3 separate regions of the Homo sapiens genome follow, and regions 2 and 3 are each linked to region 1. The links are contacts of gene promoters, found by promoter capture Hi-C in human tissues and cell types (Jung and others, 2019). All regions are on one chromosome and are shown on one strand. Each heading gives the region's core, a stretch centred on a gene start or on the middle of the fragment in contact. The rest is flanking DNA. Distances are from core to core; before and after follow the strand shown.

Region 1 (4,196 bases), core at 758-3,257:
CCTCACGTGTTTTCCTAACAATACACTGGGCATAAACACCTATTTTGAAAGGCTGTTGCAAGAACGAGTAATGAATGTAAAGCTTTTAGCACATTGTCTGACACATGGTAAGCCTTCAGGGTCAAGCTATCGATTTCCCAGAGAAAGGTGGCATTTTCTTAGTATTCATCAAATAGAATGTCTTAATACTACACTGTGTTAGCATATTAATGTTTATAACGGACTAAAGCATTCTACGAAAGCAGCAGGTCATCAGAATAAAATCAAGTTTTCATAACAGTAGAATTCAAACATGGCAGTTGTGGTTCACCAAACTGCTTCAGGGATTAAGTTCTGGAAGGTAATTTCTCTAAATATGATGACTATGTCTCTATGTGCCTTTCTACCAAGTGAACAACTCAGAACGTTTTACATACAACCGAATACAGATTATTTTTATTTGTAGTGTTATCGTGGTTTTGTAACTGAAGGGGACAGGTCTATACTTTTGAAGGGGATCTTGTCTCTTGAAAGGCTTATGTTACTAAGTCTAAAATCCTGTTTCCAAATGAGAATCTTGCTCCCCTCCAAAAAGGGGCTTATGGAGGGTTGGTGGAATTGAATGCTTCCAAACTTTACATTAGTGAAGTGTGTTCAAAAACGTGTGTGGATGCTATGCATACACGTGATACTTCCCATCACATTTTAGGATTCCCACGTTGGAGGGAATCAATTACTGGTATTTGTAGCAATGGGTGGAAAAGATGGCTTCAGTCGATCTGAGTTACTGCAGTTTTCTCCATCTTCTGCTACTCTGCAGCCCCATCTTAGCCTGTCCTCCTCTTAATGGTACGGCCCCCTGTACTCCCCCAAACCCTTTCCTTTCTAGCCCGGCGTAGAGTCTCCCTCTGTGCTCTTCCTCCCACCCACCCCCATCTTCTCCACCCACTCCCTCTCGGCCCCCTCCCACCCTTTCTGCTAGAGCTACAAACACTTCCTATTTCTAGTCCCACCCACTTTCTGGGACTTCTCAATCCGCTTCCCCCCTCTTCTCCACCCCCCTCCAAATTACAAGCTGTTTTAACCCCTTTTCCTGCCTCCCAGGGAAACTATTCTTTAAACCGCCTTCCTCCACACCACCCACTGGAGTGGTCTTCCAAACCGTTCACCCTCTTCCCAAAGATTACTCTTTAAACGTCCTTTCTCTACCACCCTCGTTCTCCAAATTGTTCCCGGTTCTCAAGTACTCCACTCCTCCAGGACCCCACCCCACTCGTCTCTCGGCTTCCCTCCCACAAAAGAACCTGGAATGACTCTCCAACCACCCTTCCAATTACCTCTCCCAGAAGCCTCCCCCCTCCACGATTACAAATGTTACCTGGAACAAAACCTCACGGTCCTAACCCCCACCCCGAACTCCCCTTTCTGCTCTTCCCGCTACTTCCTAGGTTCCAGTTCTACTCCGCTCCCGCAAGCATAGCGGGCTGGGCTCCCTCCCAACCCCGGGAAGAGCCCCTTCCCGCACGTACCTCGAGATTCCGGCCCTCGCCGCCCCCTTCTCCGTCCTCCGCCCGCGCTCGGCCACCCTTTCCGCCCTTCTCCCGCTCCGCCCCGCTCGCTCCCTTCCTTCCCTCCGCCTTCCGTCTCCACACCGCTCCCTTCCCCCACACTCCTGGCCCTCCCACCCCGGAGGCCCCTCCGGGCTTGCCCCCACCTCCGCGCCGCCCTCCCGCCGCCCTCCCCCTTCCCGGCCACCCCTCCCCCGCCCGCGCTCCCCGCCCCTCGGCTCGCCATTCTTCTCTCCGAGCCGCGCGCCCCGCCCGGCCCCGGCTCCCTAGCTTCCCGCTCCCTCGCGCCCTCGCCCCCAATCCCGGCTCGGCCCTCGCTCCCCGCAGCCTCCCGTGCCCCCCGCCCGCGGCCTGACCTGCAATGGCGGCCGCCGAGCGCGGCGCCGCGCGGCCAACGGGCGACAACCGAACCTCCCGCCGCCGTCGCCGCCGCCGCGAGCACTGCCTGCGCACTTCCGACTATGCGCCAGGAGCACTTCCGGGGCAGAGCCTGAGAGCGCGCGCGCACGTGGGGCCGGGGCGGAGAGAGGCGAGCACCGGGAAGGGGAGCGTGGGGCCGCTGGTGAGTTGGGGAAGGGGCGTGGGAAGCGGCTGCGAGAGCTGGGGGGGTCTTACAAGGTGGCCGGCCCAGGGTCGGCGTCCGGCTGAGCTCCTTGTCCCGAGGGTCTCCTTGTCCCGAGGCGGGGTGGGGGCTACTCTGTAGACTCGGGGAGAGGGAAGGGGAGGCGAAGACCGCGCGCGCCTCAGACGCCCCGGCCCGACCGAACGCGCTTGCTCTGTCTGCGGGTTCCTAACCTTGAAGCTAGGCCAGTGAGGGGCGAACAAGACCTGGTCTCTACTCTCGGCCAGTATATATGTTGGCGGGCGTCGGGGGGACGGGGTAGGGTAAGTGACAGACGTCAGACCAGGCAGCCAGATTAAGTCAAACCCTGTCGTTTCTTCCTCAAGAGGAGCTCGGTTCTGCCTGCCCCATCAGCCTCACTGTCACTACCTCAGTTTAGGTCTGTTGTTTGCAAACTTAGCAATAGAGTTGAGGAGAGATGCTTGCTAAAATGCGGATTCCTAGGCGCCCCGAGATAGGAACTCTGGAGCTATGGAGTAGGACCCTTTTTGATTTTTTGCTGAAGCCTCCTTATTATTCAAGCCATTCTGAGCTTTTGAAGATTGAGTAATTCTTGTGGGGGGCATTGTTAGCAGCCATTTGGAAATGAACTTCAGGGAGATGTTGTTGGAGCCTTCCAGCCAGAACAGTGATATTAAGGAACTGAATACTATATGTGACATACTGCAGTTAACATATAGCAATAATGACTCTCTTTTCGCCCCCTAGGAATGGGTGAATTTAAGGTCCATCGAGTACGTTTCTTTAATTATGTTCCATCAGGAATCCGCTGTGTGGCTTACAATAACCAGTCAAACAGATTGGCTGTTTCACGAACAGATGGCACTGTGGAAATTTATAACTTGTCAGCAAACTACTTTCAGGAGAAAGTAAGTCATTTGGGAGTCTGATATGGTGTTTTGATGTTAATTTCTTCTGAAGTTCAAGAAGCTTGTATGTCTTTTATAATCAAACTGATTGAGTGACTTCCTAGCCCCTCTGAAGTTGCTTAGAACTACCAAACTTCTGAGATCTCCTAACTGATAAGAGAAGCTCAGTTTCAATCTGTGTAATGTTGATTAGAAGGGTCCTACCTAGAAATGTGACATCTCACTGCCTGTCATTGGAAACTGAGGTTTGCTGGATCTTTTGGACACAGGAAGGGAAATTGTTGGTATATCAGTCTCAACACCATTGCAGCTTTGGTAAGCAAAATTTCCTGCAGGGAGTATCAGTACTGTTTCATTGTCAATTCAGAAAAAATGATAACACGTTTTAATATCAGAAACTTTTTGGTGATGTGGGAAGATGGATTCCAAAGTTCATCTGTCTGAGAGAATGTAGACCTACATGTCTACATTTGGGAGTAAAGGAGATTTAAAATTAGGTAAAATGTCCTTTGGGTGTATGCAGAGGTCTATTAGTCCTTTTTCTTCTCCCCTCCAAGGGCACTGACTAGTGATTTTCTTCGGGTGCAACATCTTAGTTCATGTTGAATGACTGTTATGTACTGGGTGCTGTGATATAAATGAGTAGATGGGCAAATGAGTGAATTCAGTGCCCAGCAGCCTGGTACCTGGAATTTAGGCATTCTGTAAATGTTTCTCGGTGAATGAGTGGCAAATACTGGGCACTAAGACAAATGTCAGAGGCCCTAACTTTACGGAGCTCAAAGACCAGTGGGAGAAAGATAAGTGTACAGTTTCCAACCTGTAAAATAAATATGATAAACCGAAACACAGGCATAGAACCTTCATTGAATTGCCTTCAGGGAAGGCAATTCAGAGAATTGCCTTCCCTGAGAGGTGGGTTTAGGAAATGTGGAAAGGGATGATTTACTGAGCTCACCCCTGAAGAACTAATCAAAAGGTAAAAACTACAGGACCACCACAAATGGGTTACATTCTGTGGTATGAAGAACATGCGCTGGCGTGTGCTTATTGCATCCTGTGATTTTCTTTTTTTTTCTTTTTCTTTTTTTTTTTTTTTTTGGAGACGGAGTCTTGCTCTGTCACCCAGGCTGGAGTGCAGTGGCGTGATCTTGGCTC
Region 2 (4,196 bases), core at 912-3,411, 350 kb before region 1:
AACCCACAGTTCCAGGGGGCCCATGCCTTCCTTGATGCCCTTCACTAGCCCAAACCTTGGCTCAAATCCTAGGCACTCACTGCTAAGGCCTCAAGGAGGGGGTCAGAAAAACAAAACCGCAGCCCAGGAAACTCCTTTCATGGCCACAGAGATGTTTCCAGATGGCCTGAGAAGGGAGTGGTTGGTGTGGGCAGCTGCTGTTCCCCATGGTATCAAATCTTTGATCAAGAGGGGTGGAAAAGGATTGACTTTCTCAAGTTCAGGGCTTCCTTCTGGCTCCACAGGCACCCCCCACAGGCAAGGGACCACCACACCCAAAGGCAGGAGTGGCCAATCCTGAGGGCGTGGACGGGGGCCACAGGGAGGCAGTCCACACCCTCAGGATTTGACCCTACAGGGAAGGCCCTGGGGATGTTGCCCTGTCCCAGGAACCTGCACACCCACCTTGGGGGCACTGCCTCTCCTTAGGGTGACCTCAGAGGCAGTTGCAGAAGTTTCGAGTTCTGCAAAAGCCATCTGTGGCAGAACAGGAGCGGCAGCTTACCACATACAAACTCTTCAAATGTTCCCACCAACTGTGACAGGTGGGGGCCACTCTGTAGTTGAAGAGGAAACTAAGACTCAAGCGTTTAACTTTCCTGAAGTTAACACAGCTAGTCAGAGGCACAGTTTGCATTCAAGTCCACATCTATCTAGACTCCAGGCCTAAGCGCTGACCGTTAGTGCTCTATGAGGCAGCACCTGGTAAAGCCACCTGTGCTTTGAGGGGGCGTTCAGGAGGCTACAGCCTAGTTCTGTGTAGGGTCAGATTATCTTGTTCTTTCTTCTCTCCGCTGGCCCACATCTTACCCTCTGGTGCCATTGTGACCGATCCTTCGCAAAGGAGTCAGCCCTAGAATTGTTGACAGTGAGCCCGTTTCCTGCCCCTCACCCCACACAGGGTTCCTTCCCATCCTTGCCCCTCCGTCCCTGGACCAGCTCCATGGGTCAGTGTTCCTCTTAGAGCATGACTCTTGGAAAAAAAACAGCACTTATCATTGAGGTCATCAGATTGCAACCCTGAGAATGTACTTATCAAACCACAAATAGAATCAGAGAAGGACTATATAGTCTCCCATATCCTAAGTGTCTCATTTCTGAAAACACAACTGAAATCTGGTTTTGGAAGCCACATCACATGTTGCCTATTGAGATTACGGTCAACTGAACACCCATCCCTCCTTTGGTTCAACCCTCTCATTAAAGAAAAGAAAAAGGGCCGGGAGTGGTGGCTCACTCCTGTAATCCTGGCACTTTGGGAGGCCGAGGCAGGCAGATATCCTGAGCTCAGGAGTTCGAGACCAGCCTGGGTAACATGGCGAAACCCCGTCTCTACTAAAAATACAAAAATTAGCCAGGCATGGTGGCACATGCCTGTAATCCCAGCTACTCAGGAGGCTGAGGCACGAGAATCGCTTGAACCCAGGAGGTGAAGGTTGCAGTGAGCTAAGATGATGCCACTGCACTCCAGCCTAGGTGACAGAGTATCTCAAAAAAAAAAAAAAAAGAAAAAAGAAAAAAAGAAAAAAAAGTTTGTTTATGTGAACATAGGAAAACAAACACAAGCCAATTTAAATGGTACCTAAGAGCCTAAAAGTGTCTGCCTGTCAGCAGTTCATCTGAGACAAGCAGTGTTACCGATTTCTTGTTTCCTTCTGAAGATATTCTAAGCCTATTCCCTATCCCATTTAGCTGTGTGCTCTTTAAAGACAGATTCTTCCCATATTATTACATATACACTTACTTGATTCTTTTTTAAACAGCTCCCTCATTCTTTTTATTTTATTTATTTTTTTTGAGATAGAGTCTCGCTCTGTCACCCAGGCTGGAGTGTAGTGGCATGATCTGGACTCACTGCAACCCTCACCTCCCGGGTTCAAGCAATTCTCAAGCCTCAGCCTCCCTTGTAGCTGGGACTACAGGCACCTACCACCACGCCTGGCTAATTTTTGTATTTTTAGTAGAGATGGAGTTTCACCATGTTGGCCAGGCTGGTCCTGAACTCCTGACCTCAAGCAATCTACCCACCTCGGCCTCCCAAAGTGCTGGGATTTAGGCATGAGCCACCGTGCCCAGCCCTTCATGATTTTTAATTTTTGCATCATTTTCCATTGAGTGGATGCCCATCATTGATTTATCCAGCCCTCTGTCAATGATGTGTCTATCTTTTGCCACCATAAACAAGATTGTAGTGGCCCTCCGTATATCTGCCCTGATGCAATGTGTGAGTCCCTCTGTGAGATGAAGTCCTAAAAATGGGCTTTGCTGAAAGAAAGGATTTATGCATGTAAAATCTATAAACATGATCAGAATGTTCTCTTAAAAAGCCATACTGATTCCTACTTGCCATGATGTCCAAGGCCTTGGAGCCCCACATCTTTGCTGGTACAGTTCCGCCTCTGTGCATTACAGATGATAAAACGAACCCAGAAAAAATGCAGGGGTCTTGCCTGACATTCTCCAGAGAGAATCTGGTCATCTGACTCTGGTCAACTGACATCCAGCATTTTTTTTTTGCTAGACCAGCTGACCAGCATCCGCCGGCAGCACCCCCTTCCCTCTCCCATCATGTGTGGGTCATCCTCCTTTCCACCGCCCACATGGACCCCTCCCTCTGGTCTCCTGCATCCTGCATGGTGTTGGTTATGTGAACAAGTTCTTTAGTGGTGATTTCTGAGATTTTGGTGCACCCATGATTGGAGCAGTGTACACTGTACCTGTGTACACTGTGTAGTCTTTTATCCCTCACCCCCTTCCCACCCTTTCCCCCAAAGTCCCCAAAGTCCATTGTATCTTTTTATGCCTTTGGATCCTCATAGCTTAGCTCCCACTTATGAGTGAGAACATACAATATTTGGTTTTCCATTCCTGAGTTACTTCACTTAGAATACTAATCTCCAGTTCCATTCTTTTTTTTTTTTTAACAGCTTATAAGTTCCTAGGTCCAGTGTTTCCTGTCTCTAATCCCAGTTTCTCAGGAGGGTGAGGCGGGAGCAGGCCCCTCCTACCCTCCTGTTCGGTCATTTTAGCAGATGACTTTCACCCTCATGCCTTTTGCACTGTGATTGCAAGAAGGGATTATTTTTAACTTTATGAATAGGTTATATGTTCACATGGACACCATTGAAAAAAAAATAATCTAAAAAGTATACAATGAAAAGTTCTACTCCCACCCTGTCTCCCTTTGTTCTAATAAGGTGCCTCCCCCATACCTAAAATCTCACTTGTTAGTGTCTTTTAAAGTTCTATATGTAACTATAAACAAATATGAACATATATTCTTTGAGACAGAGTCTTGTTCTTTTTTTCTTTGAGATGGAGTCTTGCTCTGTTGCCCAGGCTGGAGTACAGTGGCGCGATCTCGGCTCACTGCAACCTCTGCCTCCCAGAATCAAGCGATTCTCCTCCCTCAGCCTCCCAAGAAGCTGAGACTACAGGCATGCACTACCATGCCCAGCTAAGTTTTGTATTTTTAGTAGAGACACGGTTTTACCATGTTGGCCAGGCTGGTCTCCAACTCCTGACCTCAAGCGATCCACCCACCTCAGCTTCCCAAAGTGCTGGGATTATAGGCGTGAGCCACTATGCCTGACCAAGACAGAGTCTTGTTCTGTGGCTCAGGCTGGAGTGCTGTTGTGCAGTCGTGGCTCACTGCAGACTCAAACTCCTGGGTTTAAGTGATCCTCCCACCTCAGCCTCCCAAAATGCTGGGATTACAGGGATAAACTTATTTCTTATCCCCTTCTTTTTAGTTACACAAAAGATAGCACTGCTTTGCACTTGCTTTTATCAGCAAACAATAATGTGTCTTGACGATCATTCCCCTGCAGAGCATAAAGAGCTTTTTTTTTTTTAATAGGTTCATAGTATTTCATTGTAAGGAAATTCTATAATTGATTTAAACTAATCCTCTATTGATGGCTATTTGGGCTGTCGCCCATGTTTTGCTAGCACAAACAATGCCTTAGTGAATAACCTTTTACATACGTCATTTTTGTGTGCAAGCTTTCCAGTTTCACATCGGAAAATGGGAACAGTCCAGGTAAATGGCCCATGGAGCATTTCTGCAAGAGCAGCAACCAGGAAAATAAAAGGCTGGAGAACCACTGCTGGAACAGGTGCCCCATCTCCTTGTGGTGGTAGCAACAGTACCACAG
Region 3 (4,196 bases), core at 182-2,681, 310 kb before region 1:
TTCTTGCCAACCAATCGTGAGCTCCCAGATTCATCAGAACTATTCTACCGAGGTGGAGGCAGCTGTCAACTGCCTGGTCAATTTGCATATATGGGCTTCCTACACCTACTTCTCTCTGGGCTTCTATTTCCACCATGACGATGTGGATCTGGAAGGTGTGCACCACTTCTTCCACAAATTGGCCAAGGAGAAGCACAAGGGCGCTGAGTGTCCCTTGAAAATGCAAAACCAGTGTGGCGGCCGCACTGTCTTCCCGGACATCCAGAAGCCATGTAAAGATGAATGGGGTAAAACCCTGGGTGCGATGGAAGTCACTCTGGCCCTGGAGAAGAACCTGAACTGGACCCTTTTGGATCTTCATGCCTTGGGTTCCACCTGCACAGACCCCCATATCTGTGACTTCCTGGAGAGCCACTTCCTAGATGAAAAAGTAAAACTCATCAAGAAGATAGGTGACCACCTGACCAACCTTCACAGGCCAGCCGGCCTCCAGGCCGGGCTGGGCAAAAAGGTTCACCCTCAGGCACACGGGAGCCTACCGAACCCAGCGACATCTGAAGAGCCCCGCTCTGCCTAAGCCTCTCCCTCCAGCCACTAGGCAGCTTTTTTAAACCAACTCTAGAGCCCTCTCCCAAGCCTTAGACCAAATGGAAATAAAGCTTTTTACAGCAAAAAAAAAAAAAAAAAAGTACATACCTAAATAAAACCCAAGCAGCTCTGCTCTCTTCACTCGGCTTGCGGGTGTCTTTAGTTCACTAGCAATTTTATTCTGGAATGAGCTTTTTATTTTCCTCCCCTGGTCTCATCATTTCTTTTTATTGCTTTCTCCAGCCCAAGAATCTATCATTTTGAAGCCAAAGATGGCCTTAGAGGTGGGTGACTACAAAATCAATCTCAAGCTCATGGATAACCAGAATAAAGACCAAGTGACCACCTTAGAGGTCAGCGTGTGTGACTGTGAAGGGGCCGCTGGCGTCTGTAGGAAGGCACAGCCTGTCGAAGCAGGATTGCAAATTCCTGCCATTCTGGGGATTCTTGGAGGAATTCTTGCTTTGCTAAGTAAGTCCAGCTGGCAAGTGACTCAGCCTTTGACTTAAAAAAATGGAGGAGGTTTATTTCCTGGAAATGATTTTTGTTCTTATATTAATAAGGATATAGGTTAGCTGATGTGGGAAAGAGACTCCCAAGTTATGCCAGCCTCCATAAAATAGAAGTTTGTCTCTTACTGAACATTTCAGAGGTAAATGGTCTAAGATGGGAAGGCCATGAAGTCAACAGGGGACCCAGGTTTCTTCTACCTTGTCTCTTTTCATTCTTCAAGACAGTGCATCCCAAGCTTGAGAGCATACAAATCATCTGGGCCTCTTTTTGAACTGGGAAATCTGATCCAGGAGGTCTGGCATAGGGCCACAGATTCTGCATTTCTTTTTTTTTTTTTTTTTTTTTTGAGATGGAGTTTCGCTCTTGTTGCCGAGGCTGGAGTGCAATGGTGTGATCTCAGCTCACTGCACCCTCTGCTTAACAGGTTCAAGCGATTCTCCCGCCTCAGCCTCCTGAGTAGCTGGGACTATGGGCATGTGCCACCACGCCCAGCTAATTTTGTATTTTCAGTAGAGACGGTGTTTCTCCATTTTGGTTAGGCTGGTCTCAGACTCCCGACCTCAGGTGATCCACCCGCCTCAGCCTCCCAAAGTGCTGGGATTACAGGCTTGAGCCACCGCACCCGGCCAGATTCTACATTTCTAACCAGCTCCCAGGCGGTACTGATGTTGCAGTTCCTTAGACCATAGGCAGAGTAGCAAGACCTTGGGGGCTGCCCTCATCAGCGTGGTCTAAGCTAGCCAGCTCACCACCACCACCTCTACATTCCATCCTAGATTGGGGAAGGGGATAACAGAGGAAGTGGAGGCCAAACGACTGGAAGTTGCATATATCACCTCCACTTATATACCATTGGCCCAAACACAGCCACATCTAGCTGCAAGGGAACCTGGAAGCTTCTACTTACAATTGAAAATTGACATGGAGTAGGGGTGGAGTGTAGGGTGAGCAGTGAGTGTCAATGACTAAAAGGATAAAGGAGAAAAAGGATGCTGAGGAAAATTGGCAGTTTCTGCCATAGTCCTTAAACCTGTTTCCATTGGAGCCCACCTGGAGTGAGCCCTAGGGGTGACACAGGAGCTGTTATGGTCAAGGTAAATACTTTTATCATTTACACACAGGGAGAAAGTACTGAATCTATTAAAGGAATAAATTAGCGATGAAAACAGACTATGTGCATCAAAAGACAAAGTATCCATATGGAGGAGTGCACTACATCAGAACTCTGGTAGGGCTTTAAACATGTGAATGATGGAAGAGCAAGCAAATGATTATCACAGCAAATGAGAGCAAGTCAATTAGAAACCTTTGACCTGGTATGGTGGCTCACTCTTTGGGAGACCAGGGTGGGAGGATTGCTTGAAGCCAGGAGTTTGACACCAGCCTGGGCAACAAAGCAAGACTGTCTCTACAAAATAAAAATAAAAAATACATTTTTTTATTAAAAAAAATTTTTTAAAAGAAATGTTTAAAGATCATATATAATTAGTGACTGCAAGGGGTGGTCCAGCTCATGAATGCCTTTGTAGTCAGGGTAGTCAGAAAAGGCTGTTAATTGAGTCTCAAGGACAGTTTTGTGGAAGATGTAAGTGGTTAGGCCACAGGGGCTGGTAGAATTCCAACAGGCAGATGGGTATTTAGGAAGGTTCCCCTCCTAGCAAAGCACAGCAGAGGCTTGAGGAGACTCCTAGAAGAGCAGAGACCAGGCCAAGCTGGTGGGAATGGAAAAAGAATTTTGGAGGGAGCAGTGGGACCAAATCTAGGGTTTTCAATTTAGATTGAGCATGGGTGCCATTGATCCTGCTGCTGCTGCCTCAGTGGACTCCAGGAGAGGGTGCCTTTCAACCTTCCAGAAATGTCTGCTGGGCATCCCATTTGCTTCTGCCCCCTCCTGGTGTCCTCCCAAAGTTGAAGAAAAGGATAGTGCTGTTGAGAATTGAGCAAGCCTTCTGGACTTTCATCCTGCCAGGCTTTACATGGCTTTATTGTGCCATGAGATTAGGTTAATTCATCATTGCCTTGGGCAGGGTAACACAAGCCCTGCCTGCCCACTTCCTAGTCAAATTACATTTCAGTGGCCTGGTCTGCTTTTGGTATAGTGGTTACTGACCAGTACATTCATTCTAAAGGGAATCTTTTTTTTTTTTTTTTTTTTTTTTTAGGCAAGTTCTCATTCTGTGGGCCCGGCTGGAGTGCAGTGGAGTGATCTCAGATCTCAGGTCACTGCAGCCTTGACTTCCGGGGCTCAGGCAATCCTCCCACCTCAGACCCCTGGGTGGCTGGGACCACAGGCATGAGCCACCACACCCAGCTAATTTTTTAATATTTTTTTGTAGAAACAGTGTTTCCTTATGTTGCCCAGGCTGGTCTCAAACTCCTGGTCTCAACCAGTCCTCCCACCTTGGCCTTCCAAAGTGTTGGGATTATAGGCATGAGCCACTGTGCCCAGCCAGGGAATCTTAAAGATTGTAGTTATACTTGAAATATTTTTTTTTTAAATAGGATTACCTAAATTTGCTATGGGTATGTATTTTTTTAGACACTGGGGGTGGGGATTCCCATGTAGAGCAACATTTAAAACAGAGGCAATGCCAGAGTTCAGATGTTCAATTTCAATTTCTTGTATTTTTAACTTCTATGATTATTTTTTCTTTCTTTATTAGAGATGGGTTCTCACTATGTTACTCACATTGGTCTCAAACTCTTGAGCTCAAGTGATCCTCCCACCTTGGCCTCCCAAAGTGCTGGGATTACAGGTGTGAGCCACTCCTCCGGCCAATTTCTTGTTTCTTAAGGGCACAAATGTGCTAGAGGCTGGGCACGGTGGCTCACATCTATAATCTCAACACTTTGGGAGGCTGAGGTGGCAGGATTGCTTGAACCTAGGTTTCAAGATCAGCCTAGGCAACATAGCAAGATCCCATCTCTATTAAAAAAAATTACTAGAGAGACACCAGGAGATCTGAAGCTTTTCATGTTTTCCGCCAATGTTTGATTGCTTACTCTGTGCCAGGCTTTTTCTCAGAGCCTGCGGATACTGGGCTTCTGGCACAGCTGATAAGAGGGGTCATTTTGGAAACGGTAAACTGCCTCTT

What was found. Contacts are between HindIII fragments. The study calls those that stand out against the background at their distance.
Region 2: a fragment that was not itself captured here is called in contact with the fragment with the promoter of CHTF8 in region 1 in 1 of the 25 tissues and cell types used here (dorsolateral prefrontal cortex).
Region 3: a contact is called between a fragment that was not itself captured here and the fragment with the promoter of CHTF8 in region 1, in 1 of the 25 tissues and cell types used here (small bowel).

The regions. Positions count from the first base shown.
Region 1 is chr16:69,130,581-69,134,776 of GRCh38, forward strand. CHTF8 (chromosome transmission fidelity factor 8) reads right to left here and starts at 2,008. Exons shown (of 4, transcript NM_001039690.5): 1 at 1,904-2,008. DERPC (DERPC proline and glycine rich nuclear protein) reads right to left here and starts at 2,008. Exons shown (of 3, transcript NM_001002847.4): 1 at 1,904-2,008. UTP4 (UTP4 small subunit processome component) reads left to right here and starts at 2,069. Exons shown (of 17, transcript NM_032830.3): 1 at 2,069-2,109; 2 at 2,878-3,038. The coding sequence starts at 2,880. RefSeq lists silencers at 1,588-1,737, 1,758-2,117. The HindIII fragment of the contact is 4,885 bases long and covers 1-4,196 here.
Region 2 is chr16:68,781,859-68,786,054 of GRCh38, forward strand. The region is part of intron 2 of CDH1 (cadherin 1); the gene reads left to right. Among named protein-coding and RNA genes, the nearest start is that of CDH1, 47 kb to the left of the region's middle. RefSeq lists enhancers at 157-256, 767-886, 917-1,106, 2,412-2,556, 2,877-3,021 and cis regulatory regions at 2,484, 2,949-2,961. The HindIII fragment of the contact is 5,111 bases long and covers 1-4,196 here.
Region 3 is chr16:68,822,568-68,826,763 of GRCh38, forward strand. It overlaps CDH1 (cadherin 1), which reads left to right. Exons shown (of 16, transcript NM_004360.5): 13 at 832-1,059. It also overlaps the pseudogene FTLP14. Among named protein-coding and RNA genes, the nearest start is that of TANGO6, 19 kb to the right of the region's middle. The HindIII fragment of the contact is 3,204 bases long and covers 1-3,033 here.